Regions from separate parts of the Homo sapiens genome. Here region 1 is linked to region 2. Evidence: promoter capture Hi-C in human tissues and cell types (Jung and others, 2019). All regions are on one chromosome and are shown on one strand. The core of a region is centred on a gene start or on the middle of the fragment in contact, and the rest is flanking DNA. Distances in the headings are between cores, read along the strand shown.

Region 1 (2,811 bases), core at 277-2,776, 530 kb after region 2:
GCTTTAAATTACAAATCAGATGAGCAGTCATAAAGGCATGTTTGAATCTAACGTAAAGGTTACATTACTTAAGGTCCCTTTCATCTGAGTTCCCTGCAGCGCATGAAGACGTCCAGTGACCCCTCTGCTGGGGCAGGTGTGTGTGATTTCACCACACATGTCTCCCAGACCTTGAGATCACAAGTCAGAACATGTGTAGGTTGCTGAAAGCACAGAAACCCTGATTTTTAAAGAACACATTTTACACAGTTGCGTATATAACTTGGACCTGCTACTGTTTCATAACTTTTATTTTTCCCAAATATAGTATGCATCATTATTTGCACGATCATCTCAATTCTTTTCTTGGTTCAGCAATGTGTTTTGTTTTATCATTTTAAAAATAAAAATGGTGGCCAGGCATGGTGGCTCACGCCTGTAATCCCAGCACTTTGTGAGGCCGAGGTGGGCAGATCACCAGGTCAGGAGTTCGAGACCAGCCTGGCCAACATGGTGAAACCCTGTCTCTACTAAAAATACAAAAATTAGCTGGTCGTGGTGGCAGGCGCCTGTAATCCCAGCTATGTGGGAGGCTGAGGCAGGAGAATTGCTTGAACCTGGGAGGCGGAGGTTGCAGTGAGCGGAGATCATGCCATTGCACTCCAGCCTGGGCGACAAGGGCAAGACTCCATCTCAAAAAAAAAAAAAAAAAAAAAAAAGGCATATATTTACATTGTGTAACATGATGTGTTGATAGAGATACTCACAGCAAAGTTACTACGGTCAAGCATATGAACATGTCCACCTCCCCACGGTTGCGTTTTGTGTGTTTGTGTGGTGACAGCACCTGAAATCTCTCTTGGTAAATTTCCGGGGTACAGCACAGAATTGTTAAGTACAGTCCTCAGGCTCTGCACTGGACCTCTAGACTTAGTCGTCCTATGTAACTGCAACTCTGTACCCTTTTAAAATGATATATTGTTAAAAAGTAAATATGTTTTGCTGACTTTTAAAATTGATAGTAAAAATAATTAAATCATGAAAATCTGTCCATTGCTAGTGGATAGAGGTAACTAATAAACTTGGAGGGTGGGAGAAAACAGGGAGGAAATAGGCATTTTTAAAAACTGTAAGTAAACTTTCAATAATATATTTCCCCTTTCATTCTCACAATGGCTGTCTCCCTAAAGGTTCACCCCAAGAAACACAGTGCAGCTCGCTTTGGTAGAAATGACAGTTTCCCATTTATGTAAAATTAGTTGGCATAAAGTGTAGAGGAGGAAGAGAGAGCATTGCTGTTTGGAGGAACAAGTTCCCCAAATATGTATTTACATTATGATAATGAGCCTAATTAATAGAATGCTTGCATTATCCATTTTTATTGATTTTAATTATTATTTCGTGCTGATATTTTCCTTGTCTTTTATGATTTTTTATTTTTTTGAGACAAGGTTTCACTTTGTTGCCCAGGCTGGAGTGCAGTGTTGTGATCATGGCTGACTGCAGCCTCAAACTCCTGGGCTCGAGCAATCCTCCCACCTCAGCCTCCAAAATATCCAGGATCACAAGTGCATGCCACCATGTTCGCTAATTTTGTTTATTTTGGGGGGAGACGGGGTCTCACTCTGTTGCCCAGGTTAGTCTTGAACTCCTGGGCTTGAGTGATCCTCCCACTTTCCAGAGTGCTGGGATTACAGGCATGAGGCACTGTGTCTGGCCAATATTTTTCTTTTAAATTACAGCTTCTTAACTTTTATTTTCTCATGCCAAAAATCTCAGTTCTTTACCATAGAGCTAATGATAGAGTTTCTATATCACATTTCCTTTATGCTTCAACACACACAGGGCAGTCTCAGGATAACATCAACACTCAGCCAATAGTGTGATTGTGGGAAAGGGGTTAAGATGCCTCCCTCCCTCCTTCCCTCCCTCCCTCCCTCCCTCCCTTCCTTCCTTCCTTCCTTCCTTCCTTCCTTTCCTCCCTCTCCTCCCTCCCCTCCTTCCTTCCTTTCTTTCTTTCCTCCTCTCCTCTCTCTTTCTTTCTCCCTCCCTCTCTTGCTTTCTTTCTCTTTCTCTCTCTTTCTCTCTCTCCCTCCCTCCCTCCTTTCTTTCTTTCTTCCTTTCCTTCCTTTCTTCCTTTCCTTTCTTTCTCTGTTCTTTTTGCCCTTAGTGCATTTTCCACTAGTAGTTACTTTTAAATTCCTACGTTTTAAAGTCAATTGGAATAGCTCCCCTCTGGTTAGTCAGGCTACCAAATGGATACACATTTGGTTCATTTGTCTTATTTTATTTTTGGTATTTAGACATTGCTTTTTAAAGTTAATTGTGTTTTATAAGGATGTAAAATATTTGCATGGTTTCATAGTCAAATCTAGAAAACAGGGCATGTGCAACAAGGACTTGTGTCTTCCCCCAGAGACTTCCAGCCCCCTCCCTGTGGACTGTGCTCACACTGTTTATTTTTAGAATGGAAGCAGATAGGGAGAGATAGATTGATTGATGGTAGATAGATGATAGAGAACAGGTAGGCAAGTAGTTAGGTAGTACATAGATGATGAATGGTAGAAACATAGATAGATAATAGATGGATGGGAATAAAGATAGTAAATAGATAGACAGAGGGATGGGTCCCTATTTCCTGCCTGTACTGGAAAAATGGAAGATTTCCTCCACCTTGCTCTGTTCAGAGTGGTCTGTGCAATCACTCCAGAGGCACGTGTAGACACAGTCCTCCTCCCATTTTCACAATTGCACGGCAGTCTTTCCTATGGATGAGTGATAATAATTCAACCATCGCCCATCCATGGGGATTTGGGGTGCTTCACATCTTTT
Region 2 (2,726 bases), core at 156-2,655:
GAACACAAAATCTAGGGGCCCGTTTTCCTGGAATGAGATTAGTCTCTTGCCCACTACCAGCCAGTCCACTGCAGGAGGTTGGGGGGTTGGGGGATGCTGCGGATGCCGAGGGCGGAGGCTTAGGGTCCTGGGAGTGGGTTAAATACCAGCTATACCAGGGACACTGGAGTAACCTCTGATAGGCACCGGAAATGTTGAGTCTTAGTTTCTTCCTCTGGAAAATGGATAGAATCATCGCTGTCTCATCTGATATGTTGTTATAAAACAATTCCTGAGATGTAGTCTTTAGTTTTTAAAAGAGCACGCTGGGCAAAGGTGGAGAGTCAGTTCCTGTTTGTGTTAAAAATGTGGCCGAGTGCAGTGGCTCATGCCTGTAATCCTGACACTTTGGGAGGCCAAGGAAGGCAGATCACTTGAGTCCAGGAGTCTGAGACCAGCCTGGCCAACATGGCGACACCTGGTCTCTAAAAAAATACAAAATATTAGCTGGACACATGCCTGTGGCCCAGCTACTTAGGAGGCTGAGGTGGGAGGATCACTTGAGCCCCGCGAGGGCGGGGGTCTCAGTGAGTTGAGATTGTGCCACTGCACTCCAGCCTGGGTAACAGAGCAAGACCCTGTCTCCAAAAAAAAAAAACAAAAAAAAAACAAAAAAAAAACAAAACAAACAAACAAACAAAAACAAACCAAAAAAACGTGCTTAGATCCAGAGAGAAAAATTCTGAAAGGATACCTAAAAAAGTGTTCACAATAGATCAATAGATGCCTCTGGATAGGAAAGGCTCTTTTGTATTATTTGATTTTAAAAATCAATTATGTGTACCATGTTTTTACTAACATATTTTCAATCAATTCATTTCATCCACTTATTAAAATGTAGTTACTAATTTTTAGGGGAGAAAGCAAAAAGGAAAGACAAGGAATCTCTGTGTTTCAGGAGTTGTGAGAGAGCCGCAGGGTCCTGACTCACTCAGAGCTGCCTGTCTCCGAGGCCGATCTGGGATGAAGCAGCCTGGGGCTCTCTTGTCATGGGACCAGGGGTGTTCTGAGGGCTTCTGGCTGGGAGGCTGAGATGGAACGGACACCACACCCTGGTCCTGCCACCCCACATGGCTCCTGCACACTACACCAGGCCAGGCTAGGAGGGCAATTGACACACATCCGCTCCCCAGTAGAGGACCCGGAACCAGAACTGGAATCCGCCCTTACCGCTTGCTGCCAAAACAGTGGGGGCTGAACTGACCTCTCCCCTTTGGGAGAGAAAAACTGTCTGGGAGCTTGACAAAGGCATGCAGGAGAGAACAGGAGCAGCCACAGCCAGGAGGGAGAGCCTTCCCCAAGCAAACAATCCAGAGCAGCTGTGCAAACAACGGTGCATAAATGAGGCCTCCTGGACCATGAAGCGAGTCCTGAGCTGCGTCCCGGAGCCCACGGTGGTCATGGCTGCCAGAGCGCTCTGCATGCTGGGGCTGGTCCTGGCCTTGCTGTCCTCCAGCTCTGCTGAGGAGTACGTGGGCCTGTGTGAGTACTGCCCTGACTGCCCCGGTGGCAGGGTGGGCGTGAAGGGAAGGGATCCAGGATAAGGGGGGATTCTGCATTCATTTAATAATGGCCACCTGTCACATATACACTTTTTCCTGCGCTAGCCCTTTGAAGTGGGTCTTTATTGTCCCCATTTCACAGACAAGGAAACCGAGGCTCAGAGAAAGTTAACAACTTATCCAAGGCAGCCCTGCCCAGTCTGTGTTGAAATCAGGGTTTGAGCCTGAGCCCATCCCCTATGACCCCATAGCCATCTTTGCTGGAGATTTCTAAATTACAATATAGGTCTTTATGCATTGTTCCACATTTACAAAGAAAAAGGAAAGATGCAGGAGAAAAACCCTGACTTCAGAACACTGTCAATACCGGCAGGCACAAGGTTCATTTAGCCATTGCATAGCAACCCTGCCATGGGGTGTGGCTGCTCCATTAACCCAAGTTTGAAGGAATGAGGGCATGGCTTTTATCTGGGTGTCTTCTGAGCAGGGTCAAAGGCAGTGGTTCCCGAACTTGCAGCCCATTAGAATCACCTGGAGAGCTTTAAAAATCCTAATGCTTGGGGCACACCAGTTACATCAGGGCATCTCCAGGCAAGATCCAGGCCTCAGCTGTTTTGTTTTGAGATAGCCTTGCTTTGTCACTCACTGCTGGAGTGCAGTGGCACAATCTCAGCTCACTGCAACCTCCGCCTCCTGGGTTCAAGCAATTCTTGTGCCTCGGCTTCAAGTAGCTGGGATTACAGGCATGCACCACCATGCCCAGCTAATTTTTTGGATTTTTAGTAGAGATGGAGTTTCGCTATGTTGGCCAAGCTGGTCTCAAACTCCTGGCCTCAAGTGATCCTCCTGCCTTGGCCTCCCAAAGTGCTGGAATTACAGGTGTAAGCCACCATGCCCAGCCAACGTCAGTCATTTTTAAAGCTCTGCAGCTGATTCCAGTGTGAGCGAAGTTTGGATGCCAGGAGGATAAGCAATTACGGACTGGGAGCAAGAGAAGGGAATGTAAGACACTGCACGTGATTGCCATTTTCCTAAGGAAATACTCAGTTCGTTAATGAAACGCAGTGAACTTCTGCTGCACATACAGACATAGAGGCTTGCCTGAAACATGAAAATATTGGGGACTGAAGGATGTCCCGGGAGGGTGGGACATGCTCAACAATTCAGGAAGGGGAGATGCAGAAA

Evidence for each region. The method cuts DNA at HindIII sites, captures the fragments that hold promoters and counts their contacts. A contact is called where the count stands out against the background at its distance.
Region 1: a fragment that was not itself captured here is called in contact with the fragment with the promoter of TFF3 in region 2 in 4 of the 25 tissues and cell types used here (heart left ventricle, small bowel, spleen and 1 more).

What each region holds. Positions count from the first base shown.
Region 1 is chr21:41,780,131-41,782,941 of GRCh38, reverse strand. No RefSeq gene overlaps it. Among named protein-coding and RNA genes, the nearest start is that of RIPK4, 14 kb to the right of the region's middle. The HindIII fragment of the contact is 9,090 bases long and covers 1-2,811 here.
Region 2 is chr21:42,314,088-42,316,813 of GRCh38, reverse strand. It overlaps TFF3 (trefoil factor 3), which reads left to right and starts at 1,405. Exons shown (of 3, transcript NM_003226.4): 1 at 1,405-1,521. The coding sequence starts at 1,440. RefSeq lists an enhancer at 1-305. The HindIII fragment of the contact is 18,141 bases long and covers 1-2,726 here.